Linked DNA regions of Homo sapiens: region 2 is linked to region 1. The links are contacts of gene promoters, found by promoter capture Hi-C in blood cells and fetal thymus (Javierre and others, 2016). All regions are on one chromosome and are shown on one strand. The core of a region is centred on a gene start or on the middle of the fragment in contact, and the rest is flanking DNA. Distances in the headings are between cores, read along the strand shown. Region 1 holds the start of AUH (AU RNA binding methylglutaconyl-CoA hydratase). Region 2 has its middle 8.2 kb from the start of GADD45G.

The links. Contacts are between HindIII fragments. The CHiCAGO score rates a contact against its expected background, and 5 or more counts as called.
Region 2: a fragment that was not itself captured here is called in contact with the fragment with the promoter of AUH in region 1 in 1 of 17 cell types (activated CD4 T cells); the score reaches 5.1 in activated CD4 T cells.

What each region holds. Positions count from the first base shown.
Region 1 is chr9:91,360,401-91,364,602 of GRCh38, reverse strand. It overlaps AUH (AU RNA binding methylglutaconyl-CoA hydratase), which reads left to right and starts at 2,685. Exons shown (of 10, transcript NM_001698.3): 1 at 2,685-2,975. The coding sequence starts at 2,714. RefSeq lists a silencer at 2,515-2,954. The HindIII fragment of the contact is 2,357 bases long and covers 1,975-4,202 here.
Region 2 is chr9:89,610,918-89,615,596 of GRCh38, reverse strand. No RefSeq gene overlaps it. Among named protein-coding and RNA genes, the nearest start is that of GADD45G, 8.2 kb to the right of the region's middle. RefSeq lists enhancers at 631-1,172, 3,704-4,252. The HindIII fragment of the contact is 2,072 bases long and covers 2,124-4,195 here.

The DNA.
Region 1 (4,202 bases), core at 1,436-3,935:
GCTGGGGCCTCACTGGGGACCCACCCCCTTCTGCCCAGGAGTCTGTCTGCCTCCCACTGCCATTCATGGTGCCTGGGTTCAGCCTCAACTTTGCTCCAAGAATGGAGCAGGTGCCAACAGCAGGGAGAAGCCAGGCAGCAGGAGCAGGCATTTCTGAGCCTGTGAGGGCATGCAGGGCCTTCCTGGGCCCCCAAGAGTGCAGGGATGCCTGGGGCTGCAGCCGTGGTTTGGGTGGCTACAGCTGCCCTCGGGGAGGGCAGGGCTCCTGCCTGCTCCTGGCCCCCTAAGAGCACAGGGAGGCTCAGATCTGCAGCCACACCTTGGGTGGTGCTTCTGCCTGCTCTGTGGAGCAGGAGGCCCCAGTCTGCAGCTGTGCTGCAGAGGCAACCAGGGAGTTCCCACCCCAACTCAGAAGGGGTGGGTCTCCCGCTTGTCCCTGGCTCCCGCCAGAGAGCGTGCAGCCCTGGCCATGCCTCCCTGCTGCAGCAGTAGGCCGTCTGGAGCAGCCGCTGCCATCTCTAGTACAGTAATTCTCATAATTTTATTTTGCCTTGGTATCCATTTTGAATATGTTTAACTTTCTCATATGAGAAGCAGGGCTCAATCACCTTTGATACAGTTTCCAGTTCTCTGCTTCCTCCCAGTTCTTCAATGTGATCCATCCAGATATCTGCTTAATGCAACTGCTTCCTGGTGACCATCTCCCTATGGGACAGGTAAATGCAGCCTGCTTGACTCACCTGTTGACCTCCATAACCCACATGGACTGTGTAGATGGGCTCCAGTGACCACCTCACAGTGACAGGGTGACTCCATGGAACTTGTGCCTGCTTGTTCTAAACTCACCAATTAGAACTTCCATGGGAAACTGCTTGGGTAACACGCTGGACCCCAACAGAGGCTTTAGCTCCACAAGTGCCCCTTCCTTGACCCCCTTCCACTGGCTGAACTCCCTGTCACCTCCAGATTTACCCTCCCTCTGGTGACCACAAGACCAAATTAGAAAGAAACCATAACAATAAAAATCACAACACCCAGCAGTCAACATGTACATCATTATCAGAAAAGAGGAAAGATACAAAGGAAGCAAAGTTTTCCTTGTAGTAAACTTCAGGAAAATTTTCCTGCATGGAACTTTACAAAAGATAGAATAAAAAGTGGGCTGTGCATGGTGGCTCACACCTGTAATCCCAGCATTCTGGGAGGTCAAGTTGGGTGGATCACTTGATGTCAGGTGTTCAAGACCAGCCTGGCCAACATAGAAACACCCATCTCTACTAAAAATACAAAAATTACCCAGGTGTGGTGGTGTGTGCCTGTGATCCCAGCTACTCAGGAGGCTGAGGTGGGAGGATCATTTGAGCCTGAGATGCAGAGGTTGCAGCGAGAGGCGATCACACCACTGCACTCCAGCCTGGCCGACAGAGCCAGAACCTGTCAAAAAATAAAAAATAAAAATAAAAATAAAAGTGCCTTCAACATCATTTTACAGCAGATGCAGTAATGGAATTCAGTCTACTTTTTGTTTCTACATTGGATAAAAGTTGAGGACATAATGAAGGATGTTTTGCTTAGGACTAAAAAATACAAGAAATTTCTGTGGCACTAGACGTATGCTCATAGCAGCACACTTTTCAAACAGTATTCTTTTTTTTTTTTTTTTTTTTTTTTGAGACAGAGTTTCACTCTTGTTGCCTGGACTGGAGTGCAATGGTGCAGTCTCAGCTCAGGGCAACCTCCGCCTCCCGGGTTCAAGCAATTCTCCTGTCTCAGCCTCCCGAGTAGCTGGGATTACAGGCGTGTGCCGCCACACCTGGCTAATTTTGTATTTTTAGTAGAGACAGGGTTTCACCACGTTGGCCCGGCTGGTCTCAAACTCCTGACCTCAGGTGATCCACCTGCCTCGGCCTCCCAAAGTGCTTGGATTACAGGCGTGAGCCACCGCCCCCTGCCCAGTATTCTTAAATGCAAGCTTTCCCATTAGAGATCTGATAAAAGCTAGGTAGCATTAATTATACTGCAACGTGCTTTGATGAGTACCTACACACTAAATTGATATCCCGAGTTTCTGGAAGAGCTACATACTCTAAATCCCATCTCAGCGTATGGCTTGTTTGAACCCCTGTAAGACTCTTTCCGTCCAGGAAGGGCCATGGGACATCGGTACGAGTGGGTGGGCTGGAGAAAGAACTCCTTTGCCTGTTTGCTGTTCTCATCCTTTTCCTGAACGCCACGTAGTAAACATCATTTATGCTTATCAGGGACGCTAAACCAACAACCTGAGATCCATAAGTAAGGCAGTGACCAACGATGGGCTGCCACACTTTCAGCCAACTTGAGGAGACAAAACTTTTTTGTTCACTTTTGCAGCTTACTTAACACAGGACCGCAGGGCATGGTCCAGGGAGTACGGGGAGATAATTCCCTCCGGGTGGTTCTTATAGAAAAGTCTTCCCTGAATTATTCCATAACCTTGGAAAACTACTTTCTTTCCTTTTGTATTGGACAAACCATCCAATCTCGCTTGGAGAATGGGGCAAGGCCTCGGGTCACCGGGCTTCGGCGGGGCAGTGAGGGGCGGGAACACGGCTCCGGAGGGCGGGGCCAAGCCGGAGCGAGGCGGCGGGTCCGGACGCCGTGCGCGTGCGCGCGGCAGGTCGGCGCCGGGCGGGGGCGGAGCGGCCGTCGCAGGTCCACGCCGTAAACAGACAACATGGCGGCCGCGGTGGCGGCGGCACCTGGGGCCTTGGGATCCCTGCATGCTGGCGGCGCCCGCCTGGTGGCCGCTTGCAGTGCGTGGCTCTGCCCGGGGTTGAGGCTGCCCGGCTCGTTGGCAGGCCGGCGAGCGGGCCCGGCGATCTGGGCCCAGGGCTGGGTACCTGCGGCCGGGGGTCCCGCCCCGAAAAGGGGCTACAGCTCTGAGATGAAGACGGAGGACGAGCTGCGGGTGCGGCACCTGGAGGAGGAGAACCGAGGTGAGGTGCGAACGCTGGGCAGGCGCGGGGCAGCGGGCGGCCGCTCGCTCTCAGGACGGGCATAAGGTGCAGCGTCCGCCGGCAGGACGCGGGGTCGAGGTCAGGCAGGCGCACCGAACCTGGGTCCCTCCCCTTTCTCACCTCCCTACTCACCCAGCGTGGCCGCTTCCTTGTGCACCTATTTCTTGCTTTTAATAACCTAAACGTGTACCCCCGAGCAGCTTACCTGTAAAGTGACCGCATTCAGCGCGGCAAACAGAAGTGCAGCTTACGCCCTCCGCTCCAGACAAGCCAAGGTCAATATATACCCTGGGGATTTAATCCTTGCTACCAGGCTTTATTGTTGCTGTGTAATGGCTTTCTGTAAACTCAGCTATTAGTGGTGGAGTTGTAAAAGCTGCGGTGAAACTGCCTTTTATTATTACGGAGAATCTTAAATTTGAAGCTGCTCAGCTGGAACAATTTTTCCTCTTGTTCATTTTCTCTTAGAAAGTTAGTCTTGAGGGACTGTTCCACTTCATTTAAACAATTTTGAGCACTTTTTATTTTCCTCAGCTCTGGCGATAAGAATGTGGATGGTATGGATCTTGCCCTTGAGCTACCTTCTACGGGAGGAGACATCATTAGCAATACAATACAGAGCTTTGAAGGCTTTGAAGGAGGCTGACAATCCTAGGGAATACTGTTACAGCTCAGTTCCTTTCACTGGCAGTGCAGGGAAAAGCTAAAAGGGTCGTGAAGGGTGGAATAGCAGTTTCCACCCTTAACCTCCGGGTTAAGCCAGAGGACCAGTGTTTTAATTTTGACATGCATTTGTTGAGCACCTATAATCTGTTAAGCAGAAGTGAAAAGCGTGTAAGTCGTGATTGGTTTTAGTGTAGTGAAGCAGATCCTGGTTATTAGTAGGCTGTGTGAACTTTCAAGGCATGGTAAGAGGAAAGGGCTGTAATACCTGCAGGGTTTCGCCATTTGAAAGGGGTTCCAAGGCATTCTTTAATAGGCAGTGGATTTTGCCATTTGTGAGGGTTCTTGGGCAGACTTATCTCACGTGTAAAACAGGAAAAACAATACCAACTTTATAGGTTTGTTATGAAGATGAGATGAGATTGTTAATGTAAATTGCCACTAGCACGTAGCAGTGCTTCAGGAGTGTGATGAATGACTTTATTCCTTACTTATTATTCCAGACAGAGACAAGAACATGGTCAAAGGCATGGAGATGTGAAC
Region 2 (4,679 bases), core at 1,910-4,409, 1.7 Mb after region 1:
TCTGGTGAGGGCTGCTCTCTGCTTCCAAAATGGCACCTCTTTGCTGCATTTTCTGGGGCCAGGAACACTGCATCCTCACATGGCAAGAGGAATAGAGGGATGAAAAAGAACCAAACTCCCTCCATCAAGCTCTTTTATAGGGCACTAATCCTTTCACCAGGGCAGAGCCCTCATGCCCTAAACTCTTCCCATTAGGCCCACCTCCCAACACCATTACACTGGGGATTATATTTCCAACACATATATTTTAGAGGACATATTCAGACTATGGCACATGGCCTCATCTAGTGGGCTTCAGCAGCTGTCCTCTGAGCCTGCAGTGACCACTGAGAAGTGCCTATGATGATAGTCCCTTGGAGGACGCAGCTGGGGGTGTACCCCTGGGCTCCTAGTTTAATCCCTGTAACCCCTACCTGATATCATTTGGGCCTCATGCCACACTGTTGACCTCATATGGGCACTGCAGGAGTCTGGTGACCAGAGGAAGCCAGCAAGTTCTGCTCAGGCCTCACTTTAGCTGCCGGGGCCCCCTTGGGGAGCTCTGAAAGTGGAATGGCCCATTTGCCTTGGAATGGGCTTCCCAGTTGTGGGGTGGTCTGCTTCTCTATCAACATAATCAAGATCAAGGCCAGGGAACCCAGCATGGACAGGCAGCTCCAGATGGCTAAGCTCCTTCCCCAGCAGAGAATGCTGCCGCCGAGGGACCCCCAGCTCCTGCAGCCCCTCTGGGTGGGCAGTTGTTTCTCCTGAGTCTTCTCCAAGCTCTTGGAGAGACTGAGCATACCCAGGGGCCTAGGGGCCACATAGAAGGAGAACAGCTGCTTGCCCCTGCTCATGACGGTGAAAGCAGAAACTCACTCACCCTCCCCTGCATGGGGACTGTGGGCATCCACACAGCCTGGCAGGACCTCAAACCCTCAGTCAGCCCAAGTGGATCATTTGGTGACATGTGGGCCACCTACCAACTCCCTGGACTTTATCTTGGTCATTGTTTCGGCCTTGCAGGGCTTGAGTGATTTGCAGACATGTCAAGACACCATGGTTTTAACTGGTCTTATGATAGCTGAGCCTAACCTGCAGTTGCAGCCTCCTTCCTGGAATGTTAGCATCAAATTCTTGCTCAACGCGGGAGTTCCATGAATTGCTTTGCTGCCGTGAATCACTCTAGGGAAATTTAATCTTGCTGCAAAAGAGGATACTTTCTCCAGAGTGTAGCTGTTCCTTTCCTTTCAATTTTGCTTTTTACTGTTGTTTCACTGTTGTTCCTTAGAATTCTATTTGTCTGAACTTTGTCATAGTGAAAACGCAACACATTTTAATTATTCTCTTGAATTTTCCCACTTGCAGAAGATAGGCTGTAAATGAGTGACCCCAATCCACCATTGCAGGGTAGGGATAACGCAAGTGTCAAAAATCGGAATCAATTCTAATGACCATGTTTCATCACTGACAGGCATGTAAACCTCAAACCAAAGCAAACTCTGAAAGCTGAAAAATGAATCATGAAACTCAGTAGCAAATCCCACCTCCCCTGGAGGTGAAGTAAAACCACATCAATGGCTCGGTATGAGATCAAGATGGTCAGTGGTTATAGGACAAGAGACCCACTTTGAGGGGGGAAAATAAAAGCTTTGACATCCTTTTAACAAGTGTTCCCATAACTGAGTGACTTTGTTCGGTCAGCCTCAGCTTTCACACAGCAAGACACAAACTTTTCCTGGATCTCATTGATCTGCCTGTCCCACATCCAGAGGCTAGACAGACAGACAAACGCGTCAACTCCTCATAATGGGAAGCCACAAGCAACAATAACAAAATGAGAGATGCTTTAACCAAAAGACTGTAGTACAAGAAAATTAGGCGAGGCAGGTCTCACTTTCCCATCTGCTTCCTTCTCTGGAGAACCGTGAATTCCATAGCTATCCTGCTTGTGTTTGGCCCATCATCTAGGCATCGGATAGCAGCCCAGAGGGGATGCTAAAAGGCCTTTGTTTCAACTTTGGACCAAAAGGCCCTGGGTCAACAAAGCCCAGACCTGATGAGGAGACCTGGACCTCACTGCAACTATGGACTCACCTCTCTGAGCCCATTTCTTTGCCTGTGAAATGAAGAATAACTAAGCTTCCCTCCAACACTAAGAATCTGTGATTTGACAGCACTTGGGAAATTTCATATAAGGGAAAAGATTTGGGGATGAAAATCAGTGATTCAGTGGCCCAGTCAGTGGCCCTTGGGTCTTTTAATCCCCAGCTGCAGGTGAGCGATAGAGGGTTGCCAATGTTCTGTAGGAATGAGCGTGCTCCAATCAGAGCCAGAGACTGGACCACAGGCACAGGCCTGCCCACCAATCCCATGGTGACCTTGGAAGGAGCCCCCTGTCCCGACACTGCCACCTGCTCTGTATAGGCCACCTCCTTAAATGCTAAGGTGGAACCCAGCTCTGGTAGGGCCCAGGGCCCGCAGGCTGACTCCTCGGCTACCTCCATGCCCAGCCCCCACATCTCCTCTCTAGGCAGACGCCCGTGCACTCCATGCATTCCACCTGCAAGCAGAGTCGCCGTTCAAGAAAACATGCAGTTCACGCAGCTGGACCAGCACGTCCAAGGCCCCGGGGTATGAAAGGGCATGATATGTCTGGAGAGAGGGAGAAGCCCTGTGGGACACAGGGAGAGGCGAGAGTTGGGGAGGTGGTGCAGGACAGGAGTACAAAAGCTGTAAGATGAGGTCCAGGTAGACCCAATCGAAGCATGAGAGGTAGGGGGAGGGAAGGAGGAGACCCTGATGTTCCTGGGATGTATTCGTTCCCTATTGCTGAGTAACAAATTAGCGCAAACTCAGCAGTTTAAAACATTCGCTATTTATGGGCTCACAGTTCCATGGATCTGAAGTCAGGCAGGCTCAACTCACTTTTCTGCTCAGGGTCTCACAAGGCTTGAACCAAGCTGTCAGCCAGACTGCGGTCATCTCTAAGGCTCTGGGGAAGAGTTTGCTTCCAGCTCATCCATGTCGTTGACAGAATTCAGTTCCATGCATCTGTAGGAATCAGGTCCCCATTCTCTTGCTAGCTGTCAGCCAAGCACCACTCTCAGTTTCTAGAGGCCACCCTCAAATCTTGCTCTATGAGCCCCTCCCTCTTCAAAGCCAGCAATGGTGTGTCCAATTCTTCCAAAATCTGCAAAGTCTCTGGCTCTGCTTCCCCAACCAGCCAGTCTCTGCTTTTAACATATTCATGTATTAGGTTTGGCCCATACAGAACATCTCTCTGTTTTCAGGTCATCTGATTAGTAACCTTAATTACATCTGCAACATTCCTTAATCCCACAACTGTGGGAATAACACCAGGAGGCAGTGGTTGGAGGTTTGTGGTAGAATTCTGCCTTCTGATGAGATATCAGCTGACATATCACTAAGATAAGTAAGACAGTTTCATCTGTCAGTCACTGCGCATCCAGGTGAGAAGCAGGTGGACAGCAGCAGGGGCAAGTCTGAGCAGCTCCCCATGGGCTGTACTCAGAGGGAGTTGCTTGTGCTGGATCTGGATGGGAAAGGGACTCGGGGACTTTGCAGGGGTCCTTCTGAGACATTTACTGAACTTCTATAAAAAGAAAATTGCTCATCTCTGGCAGGTTTTGTGGAATCCCGTGCTCCCCAATAGCAAACAACACTTCATGTGACCTTCACTGATTTGCAGCCTGACACCATCAGCTCAGTCTCAAAGGGTCACCCATCCCTTCTTTCTGCTCTGAAGGCAGCTCTGCTGGATGAGCCTGTACTCCACGAGAGGCATAGAAAACACGCAGGCTGTCTCCTTTCCACAGCACCTTCTTCCACCCATTTTGGTCGGGTTGTATTTCCTAGGAAGATGCCACTTCTAAGATGTCAATTCTAATGCATTTTCCTCCATGCGACAAAGAGCTAAGGAGGACTCAGCCCACTCTGTTCTCCCAGAAACACTGTTCTATTCTGAAGCTCAGAGGGGAGTCTTGCGGGACAATTGTCTTATTGATTGTTATCAGGCTGTGCTTTCAGGCTTGCACAGTCATCCACAAGCCTTCTGCCTGCACCACTTGCCTGATCATGGTCTCAGGGATGGTGGCAGGTGGCCCTCATCCTCACCCACCCTTGCATCTCCACCCTCCCCAGCAAGCTACCCAGCCCCCAGACTCTCTTCCCTTCCACCCAAGATGAACAAGCTTCTGGACTCTGTCAGATGTACTGAGTGATTTAGGGAGAGTCAGGAAAATGGAAAAGGAAGCCCAGGTGAGCTCCCTCCAGCCACGGCCCAGGACACAGATGCAGATTGGGCCAGACCCAAAGGAGTCACATGATCTCCACTATAGCAGGGGCTCCTCTGACCAGGAGCCTTCCTGCTACCCCCAAGCCTATACTGGCATCCCTAAAAGTAGGGGACTCAGGTAGGTGACAGTAAAGAGCTGGACCCTGAGGACAGGGATGGAAGGGGCAGAAGCAGAGCATGGACAGAGCATGGAGAAACCTAGGAGACAGAGCGCTGCACCCTGGGCACACTGGGATATGTGGAGCCCACCCATGTTTGCACAGGGTGTGATACTCTCTTCACCGGGAAACTTCACCTCCTCATCACTGTCATCATAGCCCACCTCATAGCCCAGTCATCCATCCACAAGCCCACCTCAAAGATCAGGACCTTGGCCCCCAGG